Linked DNA regions of Homo sapiens: regions 2 and 3 are each linked to region 1. Evidence: promoter capture Hi-C in 16 types of primary human blood cells and fetal thymus (Javierre and others, 2016). All regions are on one chromosome and are shown on one strand. The core of a region is centred on a gene start or on the middle of the fragment in contact, and the rest is flanking DNA. Distances in the headings are between cores, read along the strand shown.

What was found. The method cuts DNA at HindIII sites, captures the fragments that hold promoters and counts their contacts. A CHiCAGO score of 5 or more calls a contact.
Region 2: a fragment that was not itself captured here is called in contact with the fragment with the promoter of LAP3 in region 1 in 1 of 17 cell types (naive CD8 T cells); the score reaches 6.1 in naive CD8 T cells.
Region 3: a fragment that was not itself captured here is called in contact with the fragment with the promoter of LAP3 in region 1 in 1 of 17 cell types (non-activated CD4 T cells); the score reaches 6.4 in non-activated CD4 T cells.

Annotation. Positions count from the first base shown.
Region 1 is chr4:17,575,361-17,578,447 of GRCh38, reverse strand. It overlaps LAP3 (leucine aminopeptidase 3), which reads right to left and starts at 1,250. Exons shown (of 13, transcript NM_015907.3): 1 at 881-1,250. The coding sequence starts at 982. RefSeq lists enhancers at 703-902, 1,243-1,602 and a silencer at 973-1,182. The HindIII fragment of the contact is 2,285 bases long and covers 268-2,552 here.
Region 2 is chr4:14,993,819-14,996,905 of GRCh38, reverse strand. CPEB2-DT (CPEB2 divergent transcript) reads left to right here. Exons shown (of 8, transcript NR_038857.1): 4 at 1,556-1,652. Among named protein-coding and RNA genes, the nearest start is that of CPEB2-DT, 6.7 kb to the left of the region's middle. The HindIII fragment of the contact is 924 bases long and covers 1,012-1,935 here.
Region 3 is chr4:15,009,960-15,013,046 of GRCh38, reverse strand. The region is part of intron 3 of CPEB2 (cytoplasmic polyadenylation element binding protein 2); the gene reads right to left. C1QTNF7-AS1 (C1QTNF7 antisense RNA 1) reads left to right here. Exons shown (of 6, transcript NR_125911.1): 4 at 2,475-2,554. Among named protein-coding and RNA genes, the nearest start is that of CPEB2, 9.0 kb to the right of the region's middle. The HindIII fragment of the contact is 3,258 bases long and covers 1-3,087 here.

The DNA of each region.
Region 1 (3,087 bases), core at 1-2,500:
CACCAAAGAAAACGGCCTTCCTTGGCATTGGTAACTCTGCCAGGTTCTAACTTCCCTAAGATTGTTCACTCCCCGGGAATCAATGGAGCCAACTGAGCAACTGTTATCTGGGTAGGCTGTGGCACAGTACTGGAGATAGCACTGGTCAGGCGACTGGTCCCTCCACCACTGAGATACCTGCAGGAGACTGGAGCTCAAGCTCCCCCTAGAACGTTCTTCTGCAGGGACAGTCATCTCTTTCTGGTGCTTAGGCATGACTCCCAAGCTTGTGCTGGTTCCGAGAGCCATTCCCTTTGCAGATCCTTCACATCTGAAGAGCGACCTTCGTAATTTTTTGGAGTTCACTTTTCTTCTGGAAGATGCTCTTAATTCTGGGAAACGTGGGTCTCTCCCCAAAGCCCTTTTCTCTAGAGAGGCATGCTTTTCCTCTAGAAACCCTTCCAAGCTACTTAACTCCCTGACCTTTCACTTCCGCGGGGGAAGGAGCCCTGTGACTCTGGGACCTCAGAAACCCTTTCACCTTGGCAAACTCGGGCTTCCTCCAAGCTCGGATGGGAGCCCCACCGCCGCGTCTTTCCCCGGGTTACTGCCAGGACCGCGGGTGACGACTGGAGCAAGTGCGCGGCCGAGTGGAGCCGGGTAAAGGGCGGCTACAACCATCACCCCCTAGCCCCGAGCAGGGGAATCGCGCCCTCAATACGACCGCTGGGGTCCTCAGCGGCCTAGGCCGATCCCCGCAAGGAGAGAATTTTTCTTTTAAACTGATTTTTGCAACTTGGCTTGGGCGCCCAGGACACCGCGGCTTCGACCAGCCCCGCAGCCCCAGTAGCCCACGGGCAGGGCCCCAGCGGCGGACCATGAGCGAGCCGCCGCCTCTCACCTTCGTCATGTCTGCGGTGGAGAGACTCCGGCTCCCGAAACGTCTCACGGCCAGACGTCGGACGACTACTCGCCCCGCAGCCGGAAGAGGCAGCAAGAACATCTTGTCGGCTCGGCCCCTCGCACCGCCCTCCAGCGAGCACGTGGAGAGCGGTGGGCGGGCGCGCCTTGGGGCGGGGCTTTCGGGGCGCAGACGGCGTGCGCGCGGACTGGCTCGGGCGCCGGGCGAGCGGACGTGCGTCTAGGGGGCGGGACGGATGGGCAGCACCGGCCGACTGGACCGCTGGGATCAAACCGCGGTTGTGGAGGGGACTCAAGGGTGCGCCCGCATTCGTGTGCGCCCGCATTCGTGTGCGCCCGCATTCGTGTGCGCCCGCGCATGCGGGCGGGGGCGAAAAGGCGGGGCTTCCGGACGCGGTTGACAGTCCCGGGAGCAACGCGAAGTAGAGGGGCGGGACCGATATGGTGACGTCACACGATGGGTGGGGCGGAGGCGGGGCGAGTTCTGCAAGCGGGCGTGGGCGGAGCGCTGGGCAACTCCCGGGAAATAGAAACTGAGTGCCAGAGCTTGTTGTCAAGGTTGCTGAATAGACGACTGCATAGTGAAGACACTCCCACTGAGTTTTCGTTTGTTTGTTTGGTTTTTTTGAGTCGGAGTCTCGCTCTGTCACCCAGGTTGGAGTGCAATGGAGCGATCTCGGCTCACTGCAACCTCCCGCTGCTTAGTTGAAACGATTCTCCTGCCTCGTCCTCCCGAGTAGCTGGGATTAGGGGCGCCCGCCACCACGCCCAGCTAATCTTTGTGTTTTTTTGTTGTTTTTTTGGATTTTTTTTTTGAGGCGGAGTCTCGCTCTTGTAGCCCTGGCTGGAGTGCAGTGGCGCAATCTCGGCTCACTGCAACCTCCGCCTTTCGGGTTCAACAGATTCTCCTGCCTCAGCCTCCCGAGTAGTTGGGACTACAGGCGCCCACCACCACACCTGGCTAATCTTTGTATTTTTAGTAGAGACAGTGTTTGGCCATGTTAGCCAGGCTGGCTTTGAACTCCTGACCTCTGGTGATACACCCGCCTCAGCCTGCCAAAGTGCTGGGATTACTTACAGGCGTGAGCCACCGTGCCCGGCAACTCTTTGTATTTTTAGTAGAGACGAGGTTTCACCATGTTGTCCAGGCTGGTCTCGAAGTCCTGACCTCGTGATCCACTTGCCTCGGCCTCGCTAAGTGCTGGGATTACAGGCGTGAGCCACCGCACCTGGCCTGAGTTATTTTTATTCGTGTCCTTTCATCTGTTCCACAGGTGCAACGGTGTAAATACTGTTTTTGAAAATGATGTAACACTATTAGGTTCGTTGACTCGTGCACATAGCAAGTCAATACGCCCAGACACCAGGGTTGCAGCAGAGAAAGAGGTGTAATCGTGGAGTCGCCAAAGGAGGAGATGGGAGGAAACCTCAAATCCATCTCCCTGAGGAATTTGGGGTCAAGGTTTTTAAGGGTTTTGGAGAGGGCTATAGTGTGGAGATCGTTGATTGAAGAGTGCAGGGTGAAGTCATGGGACAGGGCGTTGAAGAACCTGTATTCTTAAGCTGACCCCATTCCTCTCTGGGGATCTTCAAACTGGTAGCTGGAATTCAAGGTCTGAAAAATATCTTAAGCGATCCTTAAACAGAAAGCTTATGATTCTAATGTCAGAGATCCTGTCTATAGGAACAATGGGAATGCAAATGGTCAGTATGTAGTGCTAGGTGACTTTTAGCAACAAGGAAGTGGGCCAAAGTACAGCCTGATTAATGCTTAATTATAACTATATTTCTGCCTAGAACTTGGCATGAAATTTTTGTCAACACAGTGGGGATGGTTTCAATAGAAAGTTTTCAAGTAGTGCTCAATATTTTTATATATTTTTATTTTCTGTAAAGCGTTTTGTTTTTTTTAATTCCTTATTTTTTACTTTTTTTTTTTTAACGGAGTCTTGCTCTGTCACCCAGGCTGGAGTGCACTGGTGTGATCTCAGCTTATTGCAACCTCCACCCCTGGGTTCCAGCGATTCTCCTGCCTCAGCCTCCCAAGTAGTTGGGATTACAGGCGCCCGCCAACACGCCTGGCTAATTTTTGTATTTTCAGTAGAGATGGAGTTTCACCATGTTGGCCAGGTGGGTCTTGAAGTACTGACCTCAAGTGATCCACCCGCCCTGGCCTCCCAAATTGCT
Region 2 (3,087 bases), core at 224-2,723, 2.6 Mb after region 1:
ACCTCTCTCAGCCTTCACAGAATTGAAGAGAGTTAGGGCCTTGCTCTGGAGTAGGCTTCAGCTTAAGGGAATGTTGTGGCTGGTTTAATTTTCTCTATCCAGACCATTCACACTTTTTCTATATCAGCAATAAAGCTGTTTCACTTTCTTATCACTCGTGTTCACTGGAATAGTACTTTTAATTTCCTTCAAGAACTTTTCCTTTGCATTCAGAACTTGACTAACTACTTGGTGCAAGAGGCCTAGCTTTCAACCTATTTCAGCTTTCCACATACCTTCCTCACTAAGCCTAATTATTTCTAGCTTTTCATTTAAAGTGAGAGACATGTACCTCTTCCTTTCACTTGAATACTTAGAGGTCGTTAGAGTGTTATTAATTGGCCTAATTTCAATATTGTTTTGTCTCAGGGAATAGGGAAGCCCAAAGCCTTTATTGATTAAATTATTGTCTTATATGGTTGTGGTTTGTGATGTCCCAAAACAGTTACACTAGTAACATTAAATATTATGATCACAGATCCCCAAAATAGATATAATAATAATGACAAAGCTTTAAGTAACGCAAGAATTACCAAAATGTAACACAGAGATACAAATTGAGCCATGCTGTTGGGAAAATTGTGCTGATAGACTTGCTTGATGCAGGGTTGCCACCAACCTTCAATTTGTGAAAAACCCATTATCTGAGAAGCACAATATAGCAGAGCACAATAAAGCGAGGAGTGCCTATATATCCAGAATCCAAGCACTTCACCCCATTCTCACCACAAGCAGCCTGGACCAGGCTACATCGTTGCTCTCACCTACTAACTCGTATTCCAGCTTCTGATCTTGCCCCTCTCCAGTCTGTTCCCAACATAGCAGCCAGGATGATACTTCTGAAGTGGAAGACAGGTCATGTCAACTCCTCTGACTAAATACTTACATTTTCTCAGAATAGAAGTCAAAACATTTTAATAACCAAAAGGTTCTTCAGAATCGCTCCTGCCACCACTAACCCCTCTGAAAGCTTCCCTACAGTGGAATGCTTATTTCTGTAACAGCCCAGGCCAATTCAGCCTTAGGGCCTTTGCCCTCGCAATTCCCACACCTGGAATACTTGTCTCCTAAGTAGCAACAGGGCTCACTTAATCATGTTTTTATCATTTTTTTTCATGTCTCTCTCACGTCTCTGCTAAAAGTCATTTTTCAGTGATGTCTTCCCTGACCACCATTGTAATAAAATGACAACCCCCCGCCGCCACTCTTTCCCAGCCTTCTTATTCCTCATAAGGTGTTTGTGTTTCCATCTGACCCACTATGTACTTGAACTGTTTATCTGTCCTCTCTCTGAGATCACAAGCCCATGAGGAAAGGTCCATGCCTGTTTTGCTCACTGTTGTATCCTCAGCACTTACAACGATGCCTTGCACATAGTAGGCTTTCAAGAGTTGGGAATTGCATGCACTTATTAAAGGGGTTGTTGAATTAATAAATAGCAATTTTAGGAAATGATAGCTAAAAGAATACAATAGTAATACAAGGGTCTGTTTATAAATGGTTAATTTGTTTTCAGGAGCTGTCCAAACACCATGCAGATGCTCCTAGGATTCTTAAACTAGCCAAAAATAATTCCAGGCATTGTCAGATATAGGATAAGTACATGAAGACAGGTAAGTCATCCCAAGACTATAACGCTGGGGAATAGATAACCCTGGAGTACAAGGGGGAAAACTTCTGTCTCAGGAGACTAGAGTTGGGACTCCAGGAACACAGGGGTTCATTACAGGAGCTTGAACAAAGAGAGGAGTCAAGACCCCATCTCATAGAAATGGAACCAGTTCAGGAGGCACTGCAGTTAAGGTCAACTGGATGCCTTACTTCCATGCTGCTGGTTTCTTTCTGTGGCAGAGCCCATGCCCATAAATGTAATTAACCCCACAGAATGGGAAAGCTTTGAGTCTTTAGATGGGAGCTAATTAGCTCTGGTTTGGAGTTGGAAAAGGAGAAAGTAGAAATTAAGATTCATTCTGACCTTGACCAACTTCAAGGTGCTTTATTGATGTGGCACTCAAGAGTAGTACCATCCTCAATTACTTCTAGTTCTCCTACTTTTCTAAACCTTCCTTCATAATTTCCTCCTTCACTTTCTCCTTACATATTCTTTACGTGTGAGAGTTCCTTAGGCTTATGTTTCTGGTCCTTTTCTATATTTCTACCTACTTTTTCTAGATGAATTTATTATCATGTTTTCAAACATCATCTAAATGCTAATGTCTTCCAAATCCATCTCTTTAGCCTCATGGTCAAAATCATATTTCCAACTGCCTGTTTAACAGTTTGACCTGGGTGTCCTTCAGCCACATCAATTCAATGTGTCTATACCTGCATTCAACATCTTCCCCAAAATCTGCTTCTCCTATTTTGCTTCTTGTCTTGGCTGACGTCATCATCACACAACCAGTTTCTCAAGCTGAAACATGAGTCATCCTCTTCCTTCATCTCTCTCACCCTCCAAAAACAATTGTCAACCATGCTCTGTCAATTATACTGCAGAAACGTTACTCAAATGTAATTCCTTCATGTATCTCCGCATTCCCTTGCCTTTCACATTCCTGGAACACAAGTGCCCAATAAGTATTTGTTGATTAGTAATTGCCCAATGAATGCTGTAAGAAGAAAAGATGAAGAAAAGGAGAAAACAAGGTAAGGAAAGGAAGGAGGGAGATGGAAGGAAGGAAAGAGGTAGATGTTTCCAAAGCATGCTTTACAAAGACATGAGCCATTTTGTGGATAACTGTAGCATTGTTACCTTATGTTTACTGGAGAAAAAATAAAATGAATAATCATAATAACAATGACAAAAAAGTTATTTTCCTTCCCAATATTTTTTCCTTGACAATACCAAACTAAAAGTTTCACTCTGGTTATTACGATCTCTATTCTGGTTATTATGCCATACAAAGATGAACTCATTGACAAAGAAAAATATCAAGAATCTTCCCCTGATGACAAAGTGTAGCCCCGAAACATAATAGAAGGTCTGTGTTACCCTTTGTGGCATCCAGGGGATTTATCATCCCACTCCAATACCCCCACCTAGGAGAG
Region 3 (3,087 bases), core at 303-2,802, 2.6 Mb after region 1:
CACTGAAAAATAACTAAGGAGGTCAGTGTACAATATTAGAAGCAGTATGACAAAGGGAATTCAAACTTAATCACAAGAGAACTTTTTGAAGAGATATTAATTTTTTTTGCTGGGATACATTAAAAACCCTGTTTTATTTTTAAAGAAGTGGTCAATTAGAAACTTCTCCTCTTGAAAATGAGGTACTCTTCCAAAGAAAAATAAGATTATAGAAAACCCCTATATTCTTATATTTAATGATTTAGCAGATGCTTGAACATGTATTATTCTGCTTAACTAGAAAGATCAGCTTTTATTGTACTTACAATGCTTGTGTTTAGTTCTCTAATTTTTACTTTAAAATAAAGCAATGTAGTGCTAATATTGTCCTTAATTTTAAGTAGATATTGATCATACTTTCCTGTTACACAATGTTATCACACCATACTCAGTAGCAGATGACGTGCTACTCTACTGCATAACGTAGTACTCAATCTCATAAGCTCTCTTCTCATTCTCTAGTTGTTCTACATAGATAACCCTTATTCATCTAACTAGACTCTTACCTTCTCCAAGACAAAGAATAGTATTTTTTATCCATATATTCTAAGGGTAATTAAAACACTAACATACAGAATGAATGAAGATACATTTCTTTTATTTTCTTTATTAATTTCGAACCTCAATAAAGTGTGTTAGCCATTCTCAGAAAAAAAATAAACAAATGTTTTAAAAGGCCAAAGCTATTCTAGTACTCACAAGAATTAAAATAGACAAGTGGAAAACATTTCAAGAACAATTAAAGCACTGAACACAGAATAGGAAACAAAAAGAAGGCATCCATTACTTAAGCTGTAATACAAGAGTCCATTCTTTTCCATTTTCAGTGGGCATGTAACAGTTTGATGACTATGAATGTCCCTGAAGTTCATCTGGTTTACAAACCACTATTTAAGAAATGCTTTATCAGATAAACAAATTGGGTTTGGTATGCAACTATATACTGTTTTTTTGTGTGTAAGGTGAGTAAAGATTCAAATAATATTTTTTCTGAGACAGATCTCCAAATTATGATTTACCACATTATCATAACAGCCTATTAAAGATTAATGGAAAGTATCTTCAATTAATTCAAGGTAGTTTATTATGTGACATGCTCAAGCACTGCAAGTAGAGCTTGTGGAAGAGCAAAAATTGAGAGTTGATATATTGATAATTCCCCAGGTGGAAGGCAGGCGGACATGCACGTACATGCTTCACACACTCAATTACTGTTCCAAGACATTACTTTGTTTACAGTGAGCTGATATGTCATATGTAAACTTGTAAGTAATAATAACCTCACTTAAAGGATATTTACTCTTTGATTTAAAACATATGAATAAATATAGCGTAACCTTAACATTAAACTGAAAACTCCTATTTTTTTGGGAAGAGGGGGTGGTGTCTTGTTATGTTGCCGAGGCTGGACTCAACTCTGGGGCTCAGGCATTCAATCCTCCTGCCTCAGCCTTCCAAGTAGTGCACATTGCTGGATCTGGCTGCAAATTCCATTGTAATATAATTTAGAATTCAAACTTTTGAGTACGATTCTCGCAAGGGTAACTAGCTAATGACATTTTAAAGTACAGTAATTAATAACCCTAAGCAAATTCATGTAGATATACTGGCCAGGCATGATGGCTCAAGCCTGTAATCCCAGCACTCTGGAGGCCGAGGCGGGCGGATTACATGAGATCAGGAGTTTGAGACCAGCCTGGCCAACATGGTGAAACCCTGTCTCTGCTAATAATATAAAAATTAGGCGGGTATGGTGGTGCATGCATGTAATCACAGCTACTGGGGAGGCTGAGGCATGAGAATCGCTTGAACCCGGGAGGCAGAGGTTGCAGTGAGACGAGATCGTGCCACTGCACTTCAGCCTGAGTGACAGAGTGAAACTGTCTCAAAAAAAAAAAAAAAAAAAGAAAAGAAATTCATAGAGATATGTATGTAATACTCATTTTAAAGTCAGAAATGTTTATAATAATTTATATTTGCTTTTAGAAAGTTTTAAATTTGAGGGTTTTCTATTTTTAAAAAATCTTATTTAAAATAAAATTCCAACCCACAAAATTTTACATATTAACAGAAATAAAAATCAACCTACAAAACTAGCTCTTTCTTATTTATTGAATTCGATTACGTGTTCAGCTCTTGACACAGGTAAAGCCCGCGGTATCCAAGTATAAGAATTAAGACTTCAGTTCTAGAATTTTGTATTATATTCTAGGCCCCAATCAGTTTGAGACTAAAGGAAATAAAAAGTAAAATGTTGTAAAATAATGTACTTGTTAACAAAAATATACTAGAATTACACTGTATATGATGATAAAAGGTCAGAAATGCAGATAATCTCCTCAGACATTTAAGTGACTAAGAATCTTCTATAATTTTAATTTTGCCAAAGAATGAGAAACTACCCAACATTTTAAGATATCAATTTCATTTTGTAGCTGCTGCTGTATTTTTAAGAGGCTCAACTTCAAATACTTCAACCTTTTATGGAAAGATGGAAACACACAACAAACTATGTGTAAGTACTCTTAGGGTACTTAGAGGAGACAATGACACTGCTTTTAAGTCCAGTTGAAAGGTCACATACTACCTCCACTGCCTTAGACTAATGCCTAAGACCCTTTGCTCAAAGAAACCAAGAGGCTTGTATTCTAAAAATAGAGGCAAGGGGGGTGGGGCAGCATGGAGGAAAAGAAATGGCCAAAACAGATCAGAGAAAGTGTTAAAAGCTGGCTGGAAAGGCCTTAAATGACCCAGTTCAAGGTCCCCCTTTTACAGATAAGGAAACTGTGACCCAAAGAGATGAAAACCTATAAACTATGTCATTCAATGTCATAAAGATTATGAGGAAGAGGAAGAAGATCCAAGTTTCAGGCCTTCTTTCCTTCCAGTTCCATTCACTTTCCATTATCTCTTTTTTCCCCCACCACTGTGTTTTACTTCATCACATCACACCTCTGGCTCAAAAGTCCAAAGGGAATGCCAATATCTCAGCAGTTTACCAGATAAGTTTATCTTTAAGCACCAAAATCATTTTTCCTAAAATAAATT